Linked DNA regions of Homo sapiens: region 1 is linked to region 2. Evidence: promoter capture Hi-C in human tissues and cell types (Jung and others, 2019). All regions are on one chromosome and are shown on one strand. Each heading gives the region's core, a stretch centred on a gene start or on the middle of the fragment in contact. The rest is flanking DNA. Distances are from core to core; before and after follow the strand shown.

Region 1 (4,545 bases), core at 547-3,046, 520 kb after region 2:
AGCACAGCTTCTCAGTGCCCGAAATCACTGCTCCTCACAATGCAAAGGTTGTTGCCTCTCCCTGTCTTGGTAAGGATGTTTTAGTGAGACGTGGCTTTCCAGGGGTCATTAGGGACATGTGGAGGTGCCTAAGGTAGAGGTTGTATATAAGATAGATTAGAGTTGACAGTGAGTGCCAAAAGATATAAATGGCTTATAGTGGCAGTTCAGGCTGCAATCATGATGCTACAATCTCTAAGGATCCAGGCTCCCTGTATCTGAATAGTATTTTCCATCTATTCTGAATAATAATTTCCACCTCACTGTTCAAGGTAGTTGCTGAAGCTCCAGTCATCACTTCCACATTCCAGCCAGTGGGAAAGAAGAGCGAAATATACACCTCTCCCTTGTTAAAAGAAAAACTTCAGCCAAATTAAATTTAAAAGAATTTAATTGAGCAAAGAACAGTTCCTGAATTGGGCAGACTCCTGAGCCAGAGTAGGCTCAGAGACTCCAGTGCAGTGCAGCCACATGGTGGAGAAGATTTATAGACAGAAAAAGGAAAGTGATTTACAGAAAATAGAAGTACAGAAACAGCCAGATTGGTTACAGCTCAGAGTTTGCCTTATTTGAACATGGTTTGAACAGCTGACCACCTTTGATTGGCCAAAACTTGGTGATTGGCACAAGAGTAGGTTACATTCTGTTTACAACTTCATTTAGAGTACAGTTCACGATGTACAGAGAAACTTTTAGGCTGAACTTAAAATATGTAAGGAGGCACCCTTAGGCTAACCTTGATTTAATACCTCTTAAGGCCATTTCTCAGAAATTTTACATGGCAGTTCTATTTTCATCTCATTGTCTAGAACTTAGATACATGACCACACCCAACTGGAAGAGGCTGGGAAATACAGAGTTTATTTCAGCCAAGGAGAATCCACCCCCCACCCCGGACATTCCTAGCTAAATATTAGGGTTTCTATTACTAAAGAAGTAGATAATGGGAACTTAGGGACAATTATCTGGCTTTGCCACAGGTTGGAAGAGCAGAGATGACAGAAAGAATTGCCTTAGCAACATGCTGTTTCGCTTCTGATGCTCTGAAATCCTTGGTGGTATGGTCATCTTTAGGTCCTGGTCCTTCCACTGCTATTAGGAGGGTGTGGTCGAAGCCTCCCAGCTCCCTTAGTCCCATTTCTTTTTGGGTAAAGCCTGGAACAGCAGGCTACTATCTAGATGCTGGGTGACAGTCACGTCTTAATTTGTCCTTGCACAGCTCATCAAAGGCTATTTCTCTCTTTGAATAAGCTGTAGCTGTAGCCGTTATTATGCCCGGAAAGGCTGTGAAGTTCCATGGATCAGCAGTTTTGGTAGTTGACTCTGCCTGATCAGATGTAGAGCAAATCATAAACTATTCAACATGTAAACACTGGAGGATGTGCTCTGCATGGGTAATGCACATGAAGTTTGGTTTGGCTCAGTGGCTCCTGTGAGGGCTTTAACCCAGCCCAGCTGGGTGGAAGTGTGGTTTTAAAGCCTCTCAGCCCAATATGGTAAAGTTGGGGAGGGAGAGGATGTTGAAATGATGGGGGAAAGCAGACTTTAAGGGGTCTTTTTTTCATAGAGGAGTCTTCCCTATGAGATTCTGTTCTCTTCCTTCCTGAAGCCCCTCAAACTCAAGGACTTCTGTGGTGTCCATTGAGGAAAGTCTTTGGAATGCTGTCACACAACAGTCTAGGGAAGAAAAGATGGCATTGTGAATTCCTTGAAGAGGCAGCAAAGCCATCACTCCAGCCAAATCCTAGCACTAACTTGCCTCACCCACTATTTTACCAGAAGAACTTTCTAGTTGATCTGTTTTTTGACCTGTTACCACTCGCCGGAGGCCCAGGAAGGGAGAACACCATTCTGGCCAATCCATGGGATTTGGAGTCAGGCAGATCCAGGCTAAAATTCTGCATCTGCTATTTACTAGTTATGTAGTTTTAAGCACATTAACTTTCTGAGCCTCCATTTGCCTACCTGTAAAATTAAAGGGGGAGAAAACTACCTCACAGGATTTCTGTGAGGCTTAAGTAATATCATATGCATAAAATCCTAGTTCAGTTCCAGCCCTTCAGGCACACAAGCTATAATTTCCTTCCATCTCCTCTGCTGGGAACACTGAATCACAAGTAGGACGTGTCATTAAAACCTTATATCTAAGAATCCTTGCCCACCCCCAGTCCCCTTCTCTACTTTCCCTTCTCTTGCTGTTCCTGACTCTCTGGTAGAACCCTACCCTTATCCAATTCTGTTCTCAGCAGTTACAGGATGTCCTTTAACAGCTGCCTGACCCTCGTCAATTTCCCCCTTCCACAGAGAGACTTATGGAGGAAGTCTTTAATTTCTCTTACCACAAAAAATTGCTTGCTAGCTAAATGCTACCTCAGCCCAGATGACCTGGGCTTGGCCAGTCCAGGGTGTCAGTCTATCCACAGTTGTAGATACATGCTGTCCTCAAGCCTCATTGTCCTCTGAGCCTGAGGGCCCTCTGGACCACTCCATGAAAGTCTAAACTACTGAATTGAAAATGACCAAAATCTTCTCTGGATCAGAACAGGATGGGGGAATTAAATGGAGAGACCCGAACTTTCCTTCTTGGCTGTGGCTTCTGTTTACAGCTCAAACCCTCTCATTCCCTTCTCATCAGTCTCTTGGCCAATCACATCAGCAGGCACAGAGCAGCCCGGCTGCGCCGAGTTCAGTTAACATTGGAAGCCTTGCAGTGGCGGAAAGAAATCTTGCTTCCTCAGTAAAACAAATGTGGTAAGACCTACATCTGCCTATCTTCTTCTTCCTCCCACCAGAGCAGGAGGTGCTCCCAAAGGCAACTCTGCTTGGGCTCAAGTCTCAGTCCTTCATGCTGTCTCCCTAGTTATACCTTCTCCTTTTTCATTGCTTCCCTCTGGACTGAATCACTCCTGACATCATATGTAAACATACTGTATTATTTCCCATTTAGGAAAACACCAAAACAAAAATAAAGACCCTCTCCTGACCCCACGTTACCCTCCAACCGCTATCCCATTTCTCAAAACCTCTTAGAAGGATTGTGAGCACACTGTCTCCACCTTCTCACTCCTATTCACTCCACAGCACAATCCAATCCAGTTTCCATTCCCTTTGCTCTGCTGAAACTGTTCTAGTCAAGACCTCCAACCATCTCCATACTGACAATCCAGGGAATTCTTTGGACCAGATGATGTCATTGGTTTGCTTAAAATTCTTTAGTCTTCCCATTGGGCTTAAAAGGACATCCAAACTTCATTTCTTGGCCTTCAGAGCCTTTACTGGCCATGGTCTAACCCTTAAACCTCATCTCATGACCCTTCCCAACCTTCTCGTGAAGTTTTAGTCTTTAGTCATTGGCCTTCCATGGATTCCAGAGATTTTCCAGTCTCTTTCTGCCTCAGGGCCTTTGTGCCTGCTATGGCTTCTGCCCGGAGTGTTTTTCCCTTTGCTTGCTGTGTGGAGGATTCTTTCTAAGTCTTTAGGCCTTAAGAGTCACTTCCTCAAGAGACCTCAGTGACTACTCTACCTAAAATGACCCACTTTGGTATTTTTTATTACGTCACCCCATTTTTAATATTGCATAAAATCCATCATTATTCTGACCATTTATGTATTTAAATGTTTATCATCTCTCCCCATTTTTCTCCCTACTCCCCCCTCACTAATGTAAACTCCATGAAGTCAGGGACTGTGGCCATCTTGTTTGCCATCATATCTTGCTAGGTCTGGTATGTAGAAGTGGCTCTATACTTATTGAATAATGAATGAATGGCTCAAATGTTCTCCACATATGAAGTAGCATGTGGATTCTTGAGATGTCTGGGCCTACCTTCACAGTCATTTGAATGTTAAGCAACTCAGATGATCAGCAGAGGTACCCGTTCTTTGCTATTTACATATAGTTGAGAAGAACTCCCTTTCCTGCAAAAGTGCAATACCCTCCTCAGGATGTTTGTGAATGCCTGGTGTCTTAAACTCTCATGAGCACTTGTGGTTTTAATTTGCTGCCCCTGTAAATTTTCAGTCTCATTCACATCTCATCTCATGCAGCTGTTCTTAGCTTTCTGCTCCAACATGACCCAGATGAGTCTTTCTCTTTTTTATTGGCCCCAGATATCACCGATCAGACATTTGAGTATAGACCAGTCTTTCTTCAAGTGTTGGAGCATTGCTGGGGACAAAGAGGCAGCCAGGGGCCATAGTGTCTATACCACAACACTAGGAAATAAACAACTTTAAATTTTAATATTAAATATCTTAGCAGTCCTTTTGGGCTGGGCTCAGTGGCTCACACCTGTAATCCCAACACTTTGGGAGGCCAAGGCAGGGGAATCACTTGAGGCTGGAATTTGAAGCCAGCCTGGGCAACAAAGTGAGACCCCATCTCTACAAACAATTTTTTAAGAAATGAACTGGGCATGGTGTCATGCACCTGTGGTCCCAGCTACTTGGGAGGCTGAAGCAGGAGGATCTCTGGAGCCCAGAAGTTTGAGGCTGCAGTGAGCTATG
Region 2 (4,240 bases), core at 586-3,085:
TATCTCCTGAGTACCCCTCTTGCATCCATCCACTTCTCTTTATTGCCAACACTACTCAAGGAGGAACTAAGACATTTCTCCCCTGGATTATTGCAATAGTCATCTACTTCCATCTCACACCTTTCCAATCCATTCTCATCTCAGTAGCTGCAGTGATTATTTTTTTTTAATAGTAAATCAATTGTGTCACTTCCCTGCTTAAAACCTTTCAATAGCTTCTCATTATGCTTACAGTCAAATTAAATTTCTACCATGGCCACACAATACTTTAGAGTCTGGGCTCTTGCCTCTCTCTTCAACCTCATCCCATCTCATCTTCCCCTTTGTCCTGATGCCCACCAAGGCTCAGACATACTAGTGGCCTTTCTCTTCCTACAAATTGCTGAGTCCTTTCCTGCCTGAGGGGCTTCCGACTTGCTCTCCCTTCTTCCTAAAATACCCTTCCTCCATCTCTGCAGAAGGTGGACTCATTCTGACTCCTAGCCCTCAACTTAAATGTCCACTCATTTCCTCGCACCTAGTTATCACTCTCTGTCACCACTTTGCTTAGTGTCTGTTTCTCCCACTTGAACAAGGGCAGGCAAACTATGGCCCATGGACCACCATTTGTTTTTGTCTGGCCCATGATCTAAGAATGGCTTGTACATATTTAAGTGTTTGAAAAAGCTGCATTTTTAAAAGAATATTTTTTGACACATGAAAATTATGTGAAATTGGAATTTCAGTGTCCATAAAGTTGGAACTAGCAATGCTCATTTGTTCAGGTTTTGCCTATGCCTTCTTTTAGACTACAACTGCTGAGTTGAGTAGTTGTGCATGGCCCACAAAGCCTAAAATATTTACAGAACAAGTTTTCTGCATGTTGTACTGGAAAGTAAGGTTGAACGCCCATTATTTGTCTCTTCCAGTCCTTTACTCTCAGTGCTTGCTCCATAGCTAGTGCTTAATAATTACAGGTTGAACAAACCTTCCCTCTCTCCTAAGACTGTTAATATCTAAGGGGATAGGTTGACTTACCTCTCTTTGGCTTATTCTCTTCTAAGAGCCAGTCAGGGAAATTTGGAACCAAATATTTTTGATTTTGGGGAAGCACCTTGAAAACAGGACTGTTATATTTCTCTTGAAATATCTAGCACAGTACCTTGCACAAGGTAAGATGGTGCTAGAAACTGGAAGAACTGTTTTAGGGTTATCGTTAACAGGAAATTAAGTAGTGCATGCAAAGCACTTAGCACAGTGTCAGGTGTACAAAAGTGTTGAATAAATGTTTGCTCTCGCCTCAATTTTCCTTGCTATAATGGGAAATAAATATCACCCTTTATATCACTGTCACACAGACTAAACAAGAATGCTGTGTGTGAAAAAGCTTTGTAAGCTGCAGACACTATCCAGATAGACTTATCCAAGTGCAATATATTAACACACGTTGGCACTGAGCAGCCCTGTTTGGAGGGATGGGCACTGACCTGGGGGTGAGAACACTTAACATCCTAATTCTTGCCACTTATTAAGTGACCTTGGACAATCGCAACTTCTGCGGCTGTTTCTTCTCTTCACCTGTAAAACCAGCCTCTGAACACACAAGACCGTCCCTTGGGGTTCAGCCCTGGCCTTCTCTACCGTGTGTTTCCCTTACCTCCGGGATGGAAGACCCACCCGACTCCGAGGCGGCCCACTGGGGCGAGACGAATCTGGGGGCGGGGCGTGGCGTGGCGTGGCGTGCCCGGGACGTGGCCTCCCTCCCTCCCTGAGCCGCTGCCTCAGAGCCGGGCCGCACGGGGGCGCCGCTGGGGCCGCTCTGCTCCCGAGTTGCCGAGCAGCTGAGAAGGCGTTCACTTCCGCGTCCGCCCCGCGGCGTCCGGCGGCCGCGCCGAGGGTCTGGCGGGCCGCAGGTCAGTCTGGGAAGCTGCCGACCCGCCCCACCCCCCCGGTGCGGAAGAGCCGGGCGCGGGATGGGCCGCGGGCCCGGAAGGCGGCGGGGCGCCCTGAGGAAGGGCACGGGCCGCGCTGGTAACGCGCGCGCCCCGGGCTGCAGGCTCGGGCTTCGGGCCGATTTGGGGTCTCCAGGCCGCGGAAGACCGTGGCGGGGCTTTCTGGCTCCCCAGCTCCTCCCGGCTCTTCCCGCTTCGGAAGAGGAGTGTGAGCCCCTTGAGCGATGTTTTTCAAAGTGGGGTTCGCGGGCAGATCCCGACCCCTCCTCAGACTTTCTGAGGAACTGTGTGCTGTGGCCGGAGTGTCTTCGTTTTCCCAAGCGTCCCTGATGGTTTTGATGCAGGTGATCATAGGAATGCACTCTGGGGGACATTGTCCCCGAGGGCTGGACACTTTCCACATAGCAGGGAGCCTAACTGGGTGCTTTTGAGGATGGGGCCTGCGGAGTGCCCCCCTGGTGTGGCCTTGGAATGATGATGTTCCTATCCTTAGGAGAGACTGCCTGGGGTTGGGGTAGGAGGAGTAGCTCTTAAATCCTCGGGATCGGGGTGCTGCTGTGTTATCGTAGCCAAGTCTTGAGATGGACAGATGCTTAGAGAGTGAAAGGGCTGGGTCAGGATCCATAGGGGTGAAACAGTGCTGGAGGAGGCGGTGTGGGGTGAAGCAGGAAGAACTTGGGGTTCGTCCTGCCGTTCTGGATTGGGGCTGGCTCCACAACCTACTAGCAGTCAGTCCTTGTGTGGCCCCTGTACACATCACTCTTTTTTTTTACCCCAATGGCCTCATCTGTCAACAGGGACAGTAATTCCCATCCAATAGAGTTTTTGTGTGAATTAGGTAAAGTGTGTCAAGTGTCTCTTACAATGGCTGGCACATAATAAGCATTCAGTAAATGGGAGTTATTAAGAGTGACACAGGCCCTGGCTTCCTTGGCCTACAGACCAAAAAGTAGGGATTAAACAAGTGGGGTAAAAAGTGGACAGACACACAGTATATTTGTAGAATTGTGCAAGGATTCTAACTTGGGGGGCAGAAGGATACGTGGGACGGTCATGCAAGAAATTAGGTTTGCTGAAGGCCTTGAAGAATAGATAGGATTCCAGGGAGCCAGTAATGAGGCAGAGGGAACAAGTTCCATCCCATGCCTCAGAGGTGGCTCTCACACATGGATCTTTGGAGTGCTGCTCCCAGGACTTCTAGGCAGTGCGAGATGTCACATCCATAAGTGGTTTTGGAAGGCTGGACCTTTGGCCCATAATGGTTTCTGTTGCTGACCGTATTCTACACACATGGTCTTCCTCAGATTTTAATGGTCTCCTTCCATTTTATTGGAGACTAGCTGGCATCTACAAAACGATCTTAGTTGTTCACTGAGTAAAAGTGAATTGACATGGATGTAGTTGAGCCTTTTGGCAGCCATTTTCAACTTGCTATGAAATGTGTGGATACTGCAGATTCTCAATAATTGGGAGTACCTTTTTCATCACAGTATTGTTTTAGGTGGGAAAACACCACAGTGTCACTTGTGGTTCTGTGATCTCCAGAATGGATTAAAAAAATCCAACCCTTAAACCTTCCCTGGGCCTGGTGCAGTGGCTCACGCCTGTAATCTCAGCACTTTGGGAGGCCGAGGTGGGTGGATCACCTGAGGTCAGGAGTTGGAGACCAGACTGCCCAATATGGTGAAACGCCGTCTCTACTAAAATTACAAGAATTAGCCCGGCATGATGGTGTATACCTGTGGTCCCAGCTACTCAGGAGGCTGAGGCAGGAGAATTGCTTGAACCCGGGAGTGAGCCGAGATGGCGCCACTGTACTCCACCCTGGGCTACAGAGCGAGACTCCATCTCAAAAAACAAACAAGCAAACAAACAAAAACCCCCCAAAACTTCCCTAAAGCTTCATCCATTTCACAGTGAAGAAGCTGGATGATTTGGAGGTGTTATTTGTAGTTCTAGACTGGCCTGGCTACTGGTCTACATAGAATTCTGATCTCAGGCTGGGCGTGGTGGCTCATGCCTGTATACTCAGCACTTCGGAAGGCCAAGACAGGAGGATTGCTTGAGCCCAGGAGTTCAAGACTAGCCTGGGCAACACAGCGAGACCCTGTCTCATTTTTTAAAAATTTAAAAAAATTAAAAGAAGAATTATAATCTCAGTTGATAAATTATATATTCCTTAGTTACCTAACTTAAGAATTATAGTTATCATTGTTAATAATTCCTGCTCCTTTATTTCCTTACATTTCCAGAGTCAATATCAAGTCCCTCAGTAGACACCTTATGGTTAAATTTATATCATTATGCAT

What was found. The method cuts DNA at HindIII sites, captures the fragments that hold promoters and counts their contacts. A contact is called where the count stands out against the background at its distance.
Region 1: a fragment that was not itself captured here is called in contact with the fragment with the promoter of KCTD18 in region 2 in 3 of the 25 tissues and cell types used here (dorsolateral prefrontal cortex, liver and mesenchymal stem cells).

Annotation. Positions count from the first base shown.
Region 1 is chr2:199,991,399-199,995,943 of GRCh38, reverse strand. The region is part of intron 2 of LOC124906112 (a long non-coding RNA gene); the gene reads left to right. Among named protein-coding and RNA genes, the nearest start is that of MAIP1, 38 kb to the right of the region's middle. The HindIII fragment of the contact is 6,803 bases long and covers 1-4,545 here.
Region 2 is chr2:200,507,663-200,511,902 of GRCh38, reverse strand. It overlaps KCTD18 (potassium channel tetramerization domain containing 18), which reads left to right and starts at 1,835. Exons shown (of 7, transcript NM_152387.4): 1 at 1,835-2,275. RefSeq lists a silencer at 1,603-2,062. The HindIII fragment of the contact is 9,187 bases long and covers 1-4,240 here.